Linked DNA regions of Homo sapiens: all the other regions are linked to region 1. Evidence: promoter capture Hi-C in 16 types of primary human blood cells and fetal thymus (Javierre and others, 2016). All regions are on one chromosome and are shown on one strand. The core of a region is centred on a gene start or on the middle of the fragment in contact, and the rest is flanking DNA. Distances in the headings are between cores, read along the strand shown.

Region 1 (3,897 bases), core at 833-3,332:
AGAGATAAATCCTCATTGGTATGTAATTAAGTAACAGAAAAGAGAAATGAATCACGGGGTATTTTGACATGCTCACTCCCATTGTTCAAATGTGTTAAGTTTTAGAGGGGAAAACAAAGCCTTAAAATATACCAAATTAAGCAGACTCAAAGAGACTATATGTTTTAGAAAGGATAGCCTAACCAAGACAGACACTATTACAGAGCCACAGTGAATTTGAATTTTGTTTTGTTTTTTAAATTCTTGGGCACTCTAATCCAAACACATTCCTGTATTGCATGTTTCTCACAAACTGACAGATACATAACCTTCCCCTGCCCTCATCGTGGAACAGTCTTTATGAGGTTTCAAATTCGGGATCCATGATGAACATCATTTAACACATGAATTGTCTGAAGTTATATATGCACATTTATTTGGGTGTTTGAGTGAATGCATGTATTTATGGGAAAGAGGCCCAGTTGTAATAGGATTCTCAAAGAGATCCAGAACCATCTAAAAAAGTTTAAGCAATCCTAGTATAGGAAGCTCCTTTATTTGACAGGAAGCTGATAAGATTATCTCTAGGGTCCTAAGAAACTAAGGAGATGATGTTTTAGGTGAGATTGCTAGAAAGCCTTCAGTTCATGTATTTTTGTCACAAACACCAGGTACTATAAAAAGATCATTTAAAAAAAAATGTTCAGAGGCTAACGGCTTTGAGTCAACCTCCTCAGTATGCAACTTATAACACGTGTGGCACTGACCATAAGGGTTTGAGAAGGAGGAGTAATAAAAATGATTATCAACTGCTGTATGAAAATCGCCTGATGATTCGTAATAAGGAGCTTACATCATTAAATAATGTCACTAAGCACTTTCAATTAGCACTGATAAAAGTCTCAGAGTTGGACTGATTTAACTACTAACAAAATACTTTAATTTTTCACTGGTCCTATGAACTAACAGCCTATCTCCTAGGTACCTGAAGCTCCCATCATCTTCTAAATACAGAAATACTGTTACTAGAAAACAGTTCTTCAAACAAGCTACTTTTCCATTCATGGTACACCTGAAGAGTTTGCAGAAGACACTCAACTCTTAAATAGAACAATACCTTCGAAGCCAAGCCAGTGTCACATATCTCTCTAGAGGAAGAAGATTATGCATGAAAGATCATACTCCTGATAAAGGACATGTTCACATATTGTTTTAGGCAGAACCAAATATTCTAAATATGTGTTTTCACTGCAATGTAGACTAAATTAATTGCCAAAGATGAAAAGTTACTTGCTATAGGGTCCTCCACTTCCTCCATAATCATAGGACTGCTGTGACTGATCATCGATGCTGTAACTTGTCTGGTAGAAATCCGTGTTTAAGTTTTCAAAGCCTGACATTGCAAATAATCTGTAATAAAAGAGAAATGGCAAATATTCCTTATGCCCAAGGTTCTACTGAATTCGTTCCTGGCAGTCTGCTTAAGCAAATAGAAACACAACAAATATTTTTTCAGTAATTCGGAGAGGGGATGGGGGCGGAAAGTACGCAGCATTTGAACGACGGTAGCGGAGAGAGAGTAAGAAAATGTATATTCTTTTAAGTTGCGGCCCAGTAAGACAACTCCACCTTAAAGAGCTGATATGCCTTCCATTAGGGGCGAGGTCGTGGGAGTTGTGGTTCCATAAGCGGTCTAAAATATCAATAACAACAAAGATGATTTTTCACCTTAGGACTGGGCTTTACAGCTGACAAGGCGACTGCTTCCTTGCAAAATAAGGCCTGCGGCCTGCCAGGAAAAAGTGCAGAATCTGGAAGGTCGCGCCTGAGGTGCAGGGGACCGCGTCAGGGCAAGGGCTTGAATGAGAGCGAGGGTCTGAGCGAAAGGACCAGGGCGCGGCGCCGAAAGACGGCAACAAGCCCATTTGCACGGGTGTGGAGAGAAGCTGAACACTGTGCCACGGGCCTGGGTCACTCACCAAACTCTGAGGCTGCGCTGGCGGCAAAGGCAGTAGCTTCACTAATCCCAAACAACCCCCAAACTCTGTTTCAGACCCTGAACCAGCCCCGTTGCTACGTGTCACAGGGCCAAAGAACGGCTTCCGGGGCACGCCCGCTCGCGCAGGCGTGTTAGCAGGTTGGGCACCGGTGGGCGGGAGGAGGAGACACGAGTATGGAGCTTGCGCAGTATCTACCCAACCTGCGGCTGGCCCGTGCCAAAGAGGAAAGTGCTTCCGGCAGCCTGGTTAGGGGTGGAACCAGGAAAGCGCAGGCGTAGCAATTGCTGCTTACTCGTAGGTAGGAGGAGGAGTTTCTCAGACCTAGGTGATGGAGGAAGACTGGGAGGCGCTAAAATGAGACAGACGGAGTCCCCTCTCCTGTCCACAAACTACAATGCCTACAATGCCTCGGTGTCAGCATTTACTGTGATTCAAGCACTGTGCTAAAGTGTTTGTATGTATTATTTAATCTTTACAACCTAATGAGATGGTTACCCTATTTCCCTTTTGTAAGTGAAGCTATTAAGTATTCATTCATTCTGTGCTAGCTGCTGGGGATACTGTGGTAAATATAAGCTAGGTGACATCTACCCACCTGGAGTTGGTGGTGGAGAGGGGTAATCGAACACATACAAATGCATGTGAAATTGCTACTAATATTCTTTAGTGTTCCATAATTCTTTGAAAGAGTAACATTCATCTGGGAAGAAGAGTCTGTAAAGCCACTATAAGAGGGTTATCAAAGGGTGAGTGGGAGTTAGAGAAGACCAGAAAAGAGAAGAAAGGGCAACGGGAAAGGAGGATAAGGGAAAATAGCCTGAATATTTTAGGCAAAGAGAACAATGTGTGCAAGATCTGGGAAGCATGGTCTGAGGAAAGATGAAAATCGAGCTCTGAACTTCAGCATTATTAACATTTTGAGTCAGGATGTTTCTTTATTGGGGGCTGCCCTGTGCATGATGCTTAGCAGTAGCATCCCTAATCTCTAGCCATTAGATGCCAGTACTCCCCCCAACCAACCACCACCACCATCACCACCAAGTTGTGACAGCTAAAAATCTCTCCAGACATTGCCAAATCCAAATGTCCTTGGGGGCGGTGGGGGCAACATTAGCTGAATTTGTCAACCACTCTTCTAAGTGGAACCTGAGTGACTGGAACAGCAAGTGAGGGGAGCCACATAGGAGTTGAGGCTGGAATAACAGGAAGGGGCCAGGAAATATCCTGTGGGATTTGTGTGTTGGTTCTAAAAGAAGTGAAGATTGTGAACTGATGAGTGATGTTTAAATTGTTTTCTTTTGAAAATGATTGCTTTGGCTCCTGTGTTAAATCACTTTCCCAAGATGGTGGAATCCCGAATATTGTGACTCGAAATAAGATGCTATTAACTAATGAGCAGAACTTTCTTCAGGGTTTATAGCAATAAAATTTATCATGAGCCACTGCATTATATTCTGGGATCAAAATCCTGAGGCCCTCACAAAAGAAGCCAGACCATTGTTGGGGACTAGTTTCCAAAGGAACAATAAAATTTCACTTAAAACTTTTCTCTCAACACCCCCCACCCCAATAAAACAAACAGAAAACGCACTCCCCTCCAAACAAAAATAGCAACAACAAAAGGATGTAAGACCCAACCAAAAAACCTAGGATTGTACTCTAGAGACCAACAGGCAGCTGCCCTTTGAGGTTTTTACCCATTAGCGAATTTATTTGTTTTATTTTTGTGGATACATCATAGTTGTACATATTTATGAGATAAATGTGACATTTTGATACAAGCATACAATGTGTAATAATGAAATCTGGGTAATTGAGATATATCTGTCGCCTCAGACATTTGTCATTGCTTTGTGTAGAGAAAATTATAAATCTACTCCTAGTTATTTTGAACTATACAATAAATTATTGTTAACTA
Region 2 (3,483 bases), core at 815-3,314, 2.0 Mb after region 1:
CACTTTGGGAGTCGGAGGCAGGCGGATCATTTGAGTTTGAGACCAGACTGGCCAACATGGCAAAACCCCGTCTCTATTAAAAACAAAAATTAAAACTTAGCCAGGCGTGGTGGCATGCACCTGTAATCCCAGCTACTGGGGAGGCTGAGGCAGAAAAATCATTGAACCCGGGAGGCAGAGGTTGCAGTGAGCCGAGATCATGCCACTGCACCCAGCCTAGGCAACAGAGCAAGACTCCACCTCAAAAAAAAAAAAAAAAAGGCCGGGCGCAGTGGCTCACGCCTGTAATCCCAGCACTTTGGAAGGCCGAGGCAGGCAGATCACGAGGTCAGGAGATCGAGACCACAATGCAACCCCATCTCTACTAAAAATACAAAAAAATTAGCCGGGCATGGTGGCAGCCGCCTGTAGTTCCAGCTACTCAGGAGGCTGAAGCAGGAGAATGGCGTGAACCCGGCAGGCGGAGCTTGCAGTGAGCCGAGATTGCGCCACTGCACTCCAGCCTGGGTGACAGAGCAAGACTCCGTCTCAAAAAAAAAAAACAAAAACAAAAAAAATTAAAAGGTAAAATGAGGCCAGGAGTGATGGCTCATGTCTTATAATCTTAAGAGCTTTGAGAGGCCAAGGCAGAAGGATCACTTGAAGCCAGGAGTTTGAGACCAGCCTGGGCAACATAGCAAGACCCTGTCTCTAAGAAAAAACAAATTAGCCAGGCATGGTGGCGCATGCCTGTAGTCCCAGCTACTCAGAAGGCCGAGGAAGAAGGATTGCTTGAGCTCGGGAGTTTGAAGTTACAGTGAGCTATGACTGTGCCACTGCACTCCAGCTTGAATGACACAGCAAGACTTTGTCTAAAAAAAGAAAGAAAGAAAAAGGCTAGGCACGGTGGCTTATGCCTGTAATCCCGGCACTTTGGGAGGCTGAGGTGGGCGGATCACGAGGTCAGGAAATCGAGACCATCCTGGCCAACATGGTAAAACCCCGTCTCTACTAAAAATACAAAAATTAGCTGGGCGTGGTGGCACATGCCTGTAATCCCAGCTACTAAGGAGGCTGAGGCAGGAGAATCGCTTTAACCAGGGAGTTGGGGGTTGCAGTGAGCCGAGATGGCGCCACTGCACTCCAGCCTGATGACAGAGCAAGACTGTCTCAAAAAAAAAAAAAAAAAAAGAAAGAAAGAAAAAGAAGATTAAATGAGAGTATACATGTAAAAAAATTTGCTAGCACATTTGCTAGCACACAGTAAGTGTTCAATGTTAACTTACTATTATTGTTGTTACTATAACCGTATTTCTTCAATCTGAAAAAGCACATTTTCTTACATCTCAACATATATGAATCTGGGATATATCTTATAATTGATGCATACATTTATTAAGGCAATGTTTGGGGGAGTTATTTTGTTTTTGTTTTTCCCAAATATCATGTCATGATCTACGTTTGTCTTTAAATCAGTATTATTTTAGTATCAAGGCAATGCAGTATTTATGAAATAATATCTTCAACATTTATACTTCTATAAGCATTAGGTTTACTTGTAAAGAAAAAACATAAAAATTTACATTTTCTGTCTTTGGAGATAATAATCGTCTATGAGTCTAATAGAATAATTTCGTTTTATCAGTCAGCAAAGAAAAAAATCTCAAAACATCCTTCTTTGTCTAAATATTTAAAATACTGTAGTCTTTAAAACAAAACAAAACAAACTTTATTTAGAAAAAAAAATCTTTACAAACCCCATAAGAAAAAAGATCCTAATTCATATGCAGAAAGTGAAAGTCACCTCCTTCACCCTGTTTCAGGCATTATAAATACAATCTACCTTATGGGTTCCACCAAGCTGTTTCTGTACTATAAAGCCAACGGTTTTAGAAATACAATGCACAGGGCCGGGCGTGGTGGCTCACGCCTGTAATCCCAGGACTTTGGGAGGCCGAGGCGGGTGGATCACGAGGTCAGAAGATCGAGACCACCCTGGCTAACACAGTGAAACATCATCTCTACTAAAAATACAAAAAATTAGCTGGGCATGGTGGTGGGTGCCTGTAGTCCCAGCTGCTCGGGAGGCTGAGGCAGGAGAATGGCATGAACCTGGGAGGCGGAGCTTGCAGTGAGCCGAGATTGCGCCACTGCACTCCAGCCTGGGCGACAGAGCAAGACTCCGTCTCAAAAAAAAAAAAAAAAAAATATATATATATATATATATATATAGAAATACAATGTGCAGAACTTCACAAACTATTACTCACCTGGTCTGTTTCTCTAAATTAGATGCATTGACCTCAAACACTCTCTCAGTATCCCATTTCTGTTGGATTTCTTTCTCAATCTTCTTCAAAAAGTCCACTTTGGCTGTTCCTTTTCTTTCCTATTGGACACAAAGAGAATAATCCACTCTGTATTTCAGCACGCTTGCTTTAAAAAAGAATTGGGTTCACAGAACTGAGCTGCTCACTGATAAAGACTGATTTTTCCATGGTTATCTTGAAATTTAAATGAACATTAAAAATTAGGGTTATCAGCCAGGCGCGGTGGCTCATGCGTGTAATCCCAGCACTTTGGGAGGCCGAGGCGGGTGGATTGCTTGAGGTCAGGAGTTCGAGATCAGCCTGGCCAACAGGGCGAAACCCATCTCTACTAAAATACAAAAATTAGCTGGGCGTGGTGGCGGGTACCTGTAATCTCAGCAACTCAGGAGGCTGAGGCAGGAGAATCGCTTGAACCAGGGAGGCGGAGGCTGCAGTGAGCCGAGATCATGCCATTGCACTCCAGCTTGGGTGACACAGCAAGACTCCGCCAGAAAAAAAAAATTAGGATTATCATGACCTGTGTACCTCAAACCTCAAAGAAATGGTTGAACAATTACTGAAATATGTAAAAGGCTTTGATATGCTTTTTTAAAATTATATACTACAATGTAACACTGTCATCAAATGTTTCTATTTAATTAAAATACATGAATATCAAAGATACTGATAGAGAACTTCTCTCCAAAATTGTTAAAGAACTGTTCATATGAAATTTAAATAAAACAGGCTGGACACGGTGGCTCACGCCTGTAATCCCAGCACTTTGGGAGGCCGAGGTGAGAGGATCACCTGAGGTCAGGAGTTAGAGACAAGCCTGGCCAACGTGGTGAAACCCCATCTCTACTAAAAATACAAAAATTAGCTAGGCAAGGTGGCACGCATCTGTAATCCCAGCTACTTGGGAGGCTGAGGCAGGAGAATCGCTTGAACCTGGGAGGTGGAAGTTGCAGTGAGCCAAGATTGCACCATTGCACTCCAGCCTGGGCAACAAGAGCGAAACTCCATCCCCCACCAAAAAAAAAAAAATACCTGGACTCTTTTCAAGTTTCCATAAAACAGTGATTGTATAAGGTATTTTCTTTTCTAAGAAATAATAAGCCTGCACAACTGTTCATCCCTTTCCATTCCTGCTACTAACCACCTTCATTTAGACTATCAACGCCACTGCCCCCTC
Region 3 (4,012 bases), core at 1,301-3,800, 2.8 Mb before region 1:
TGCTTTAGCGCTTCCCACCCTAACTTAGGGTCCCATATGCCTCCTGTTTCTTCTTGACCAGTGACCTGCCACTGTGGGCACTGTCATTCTACATGTCAGTGAGTGCAGAGTGCTATGGTTACCATGCAGACTATCTTTGAGCTGACTCTGCAGGCCAGTGACCAGGGTTCAACTTGCTCAGTGTCATCCTGAACCTGCATGTGATGGTGGATGACCATTGCAAAAATGCAAGGACACTATGCCAGGAGTTGCAGCCAAGTGGGGCCCTCTTTGATGCTGCACCACTCACAATGCAACCCAGCTATCCCATCACCAAAGTGGACACCAGCTGGGGCATAAAGGCTGACTGTCCTATCATGTGCTTCAGGCCAGCTAATGTGGCTCTTCAAACTAGGGATGTGCACGAGCTAGATGCGTGCCGTGTCACTGTGGGTAACAGAGATGCAACCTGCCAAGGTTTGTTGGTCACCGTGGTCAATGGTGAATCATCACGCTGAAACATCACCTGGTTGCTGCTCATAGTTTGCAGGAGTTGCTACCAGACCTCAGCAATCGCCCAGCACCCAACAGCAGGCAGCAGACAGCACCCAACAGCTGGCGATGGCCGTTGCCTTGATCTCCATGCTGTTTCTCCTCAGTGTGACTCTGGCCATCTCTCTGAACCTGCAATGCCCCCTATAGCTCCATTGCCTGGGGCTGTTTTCAGCTGGATCTCTGGTCCAAGCCCGGATATGGAGTTGTCTCCAACTTAAAGAAAGGAAATTTGCCCTGTTCCTACAACGTATGTGTGGTTTTAGATATTTTTAAAATCTTAATTTCTTTAACTCAAGAAACAGCTTTGAACCAGGTATTCTCTGCAGTGCCAGCAATGAAGCTTTGTTTTATTTTTGTTTTTGTAGAAACGGGGTTCACTATATTGACCAAGCTGGTCTCAAACTCCTGGCCTCAAGTAATCTGCCCACCTTGGCCTCCCAAAGTGCTGGGATTGCAGGCGTGAGCCACTGTGTGTGGGCAGCAATGAAGCTTTAAATGTTGCATTTGATTCAAATGTATTTGTGTGATATTTTAACATTTTTATTTTATACTTACCATCCTTTTATAAATCACTCCTGCGTGTTTTTGGTTGCTGAAAGTAGGGAGCTCTACAGGTTTACTTACTAGTTCTTATGTATATTTTAATTTACCTCATTAGCTCACAATTTCTTTGGGGAAAAGTTTATGCCTATTAATGTGTATTCTGAAAAGTTACATTCTCTGTTAAAGAGTTACTTCCTTGCAATATTGAAGATGATTTATTGCACCTTTAAATTTCTACTCTTTGGCTCCATGTACTTGTCTTTGAGAAGCTGAGAAACTGTAGATTTGGTTAAGAACTAAAGTTCTCTTTCCAAAAACTATTATTGAGACCTTTCATTGTTTTCTTTCTTTCCTCATTTTTAACTTTTCTCAGTCATGGTGTCCATGGGTTGGCTGGCCGAATTTGTTCCTGAAATTATCAGACTCTGGAGTACAGATAGCATGCTTCTCTAACTTTGGGGTAAAGATAAGTAAGTCACTCTAAGCCTGAGACATTTTAATTAGTAACCCTTTGCTAATAGTGCAGTGATTAAAAAAAAAAGAAGGCCACATCCTCAACTGGTTAAAAAATACTGTTAAGAGAAAACCAACTTCTCTTGGAGAAAATATTAAGTGCGATTATAGAGGAATACATATTATAAGAGCCTATCTAAAAATAAAGATGAGACCATTTTTCTTTTCAGCTGTGAAGAATAATATCATAGACTTTGTCTCTGAAATTTGAAATCTAAATTATATATTCATGTGACTTTTCAATGAAATTCCAAGAGCCCAGTTTTATTTTTTTCAAAATATATTGCCTTTGGTGAATCTTAAGAATTTTTTAAAAACCCACATAATGCAAAGACACTTCAAAAAAAAAAAAGAGGAAAAATAAGGATAGGGTTAAACCATGCTCTTCAAAATCCCAAGGTTTCTGATAAATATTCAAATCATAATGGGAAGGAAATGGGATGGTATGATTTTTTTAAAGTCTAGCTTATATTCTAAAAGATTATTTTTCCCTCTAATACTTTTCACCCTCCAGTCAAAGGGGAGCTGCTCTATGTGGCCTGGGAAATTACCAAGTGGTCAAACTTTACTACAGAAAAAGTGGAGAGATGATTTTGTCCTCATTGTAATGTTAGGTTTTTACTATAATTCCCTGAATAGCAAACTTGGAAAGCAGATAACATGGGAATACTTGGATTCTCCTGTATATTTCAATTTGGTGACATTTAGGCACATTTAAAGAAGTGAACATATAGTTTCTCTTTTTCATACATATATTGTAGAATTATTTCCTTGACAATAGACTAAAACTTAAGAAAATAACAAGTTAATGAGAAGGTTTTCAGTATTTGCTAGGAATGCAGTAACTGGTTAGGACTGTGGGCGCCGCTGTTCACTAATCTGGTAGATACAGGCAGTACACACAGGTCAGGAGGAGGAAAAAAAAAAAAAAGAAAAAGAAAAAAGCTCTCGTGCCTCTTAGAACCTCCATAACCGCCAGATTGAAAACTGACTGTCCAAGACTGCCTAAATCCTACTTCTGGATGACTCTCCAGTCAGAATTCTCCTGAAAATTGGGTTAATTTCAGCTCAGAAAAGCAGAAACGATACCCTTGGTACTGGACTGGAAGAAAACTACGAAGTGAGAGAGCCATGAAGATTCAGAAAAAGCTGACTGGCTGCAGCAGGCTGATGCTTCTGTGTCTTTCTCTGGAGCTGCTGTTGGAAGCTGGGGCTGGGAATATTCACTACTCAGTGCCGGAAGAGACAGACAAAGGTTCCTTCGTAGGCAACATCGCCAAGGACCTAGGGCTGCAACCCCAGGAGCTGGCAGATGGCGGAGTCCGCATCGTCTCCAGAGGTAGGATGCCGCTTTTCGCTCTGAATCCTAGAAGTGGCAGCTTGATCACCGCGCGCAGGATAGACCGGGAGGAGCTCTGCGCTCAGAGCATGCCGTGTCTCGTGAGTTTTAATATCCTTGTTGAGGATAAAATGAAGCTTTTTCCTGTTGAAGTAGAAATAATTGATATTAATGACAACACTCCCCAATTCCAGTTAGAGGAACTGGAGTTTAAAATGAATGAAATAACGACTCCAGGTACCAGAGTCTCATTGCCTTTTGGGCAAGACCTTGATGTGGGTATGAACTCACTCCAGAGCTACCAACTCAGCTCTAACCCTCATTTCTCCCTGGATGTGCAACAGGGAGCCGATGGGCCTCAACATCCAGAGATGGTGCTGCAGAGTCCCTTAGACAGAGAAGAAGAAGCTGTCCACCACCTCATCCTCACAGCTTCTGATGGGGGTGAACCAGTCCGTTCAGGGACCCTCAGAATTTACATTCAGGTGGTGGATGCAAATGACAATCCTCCAGCATTTACTCAGGCACAATACCATATAAATGTCCCCGAAAACGTGCCGCTGGGTACTCAGCTGCTCATGGTAAATGCCACTGACCCTGATGAGGGAGCCAATGGGGAAGTAACGTACTCCTTTCACAATGTAGACCACAGAGTGGCCCAAATATTTCGTTTAGATTCTTACACAGGAGAAATATCAAATAAAGAACCACTAGATTTCGAAGAATACAAAATGTATTCAATGGAAGTTCAAGCCCAGGATGGTGCGGGGCTCATGGCTAAAGTTAAGGTACTGATCAAAGTTTTGGATGTAAATGATAATGCCCCAGAAGTGACCATCACCTCTGTCACCACTGCAGTTCCAGAAAACTTTCCTCCTGGGACCATAATTGCTCTTATCAGTGTGCATGACCAGGACTCAGGAGACAATGGCTACACCACATGTTTCATTCCTGGAAATTTACCCTTTAAATTGGAAAAGTTAGTTGATAATTATTACCGTTTAGTGACTGAAAGAACACTGGACAGAGAACTTATCTCTGGGTACAACATCACAATAACAGCAATAGACCAAGGAACTCCAG

Evidence for each region. Contacts are between HindIII fragments. The CHiCAGO score rates a contact against its expected background, and 5 or more counts as called.
Region 2: a contact is called between a fragment that was not itself captured here and the fragment with the promoter of YIPF5 in region 1, in 1 of 17 cell types (neutrophils). The highest score is 12.2, in neutrophils.
Region 3: a contact is called between the fragment with the promoter of PCDHGA1 here and the fragment with the promoter of YIPF5 in region 1, in 1 of 17 cell types (total CD8 T cells). The highest score is 5.7, in total CD8 T cells.

What each region holds. Positions count from the first base shown.
Region 1 is chr5:144,168,577-144,172,473 of GRCh38, forward strand. It overlaps YIPF5 (Yip1 domain family member 5), which reads right to left and starts at 2,083. Exons shown (of 6, transcript NM_030799.9): 1 at 1,959-2,083; 2 at 1,270-1,389. The coding sequence starts at 1,379. KCTD16 (potassium channel tetramerization domain containing 16) reads left to right here and starts at 2,297. Exons shown (of 4, transcript NM_020768.4): 1 at 2,297-2,433. RefSeq lists an enhancer at 1,945-2,224. The HindIII fragment of the contact is 8,610 bases long and covers 1-3,897 here.
Region 2 is chr5:146,175,298-146,178,780 of GRCh38, forward strand. It overlaps LARS1 (leucyl-tRNA synthetase 1), which reads right to left. Exons shown (of 32, transcript NM_020117.11): 2 at 2,250-2,368. Among named protein-coding and RNA genes, the nearest start is that of LARS1, 5.6 kb to the right of the region's middle. RefSeq lists an enhancer at 340-509, a cis regulatory region at 425 and silencers at 1,215-1,415, 2,235-2,435. The HindIII fragment of the contact is 6,562 bases long and covers 1-3,483 here.
Region 3 is chr5:141,327,964-141,331,975 of GRCh38, forward strand. It overlaps PCDHGA1 (protocadherin gamma subfamily A, 1), which reads left to right and starts at 2,551. Exons shown (of 4, transcript NM_018912.3): 1 at 2,551-4,012. The coding sequence starts at 2,722. It also overlaps PCDHG@. The HindIII fragment of the contact is 2,043 bases long and covers 1,022-3,064 here.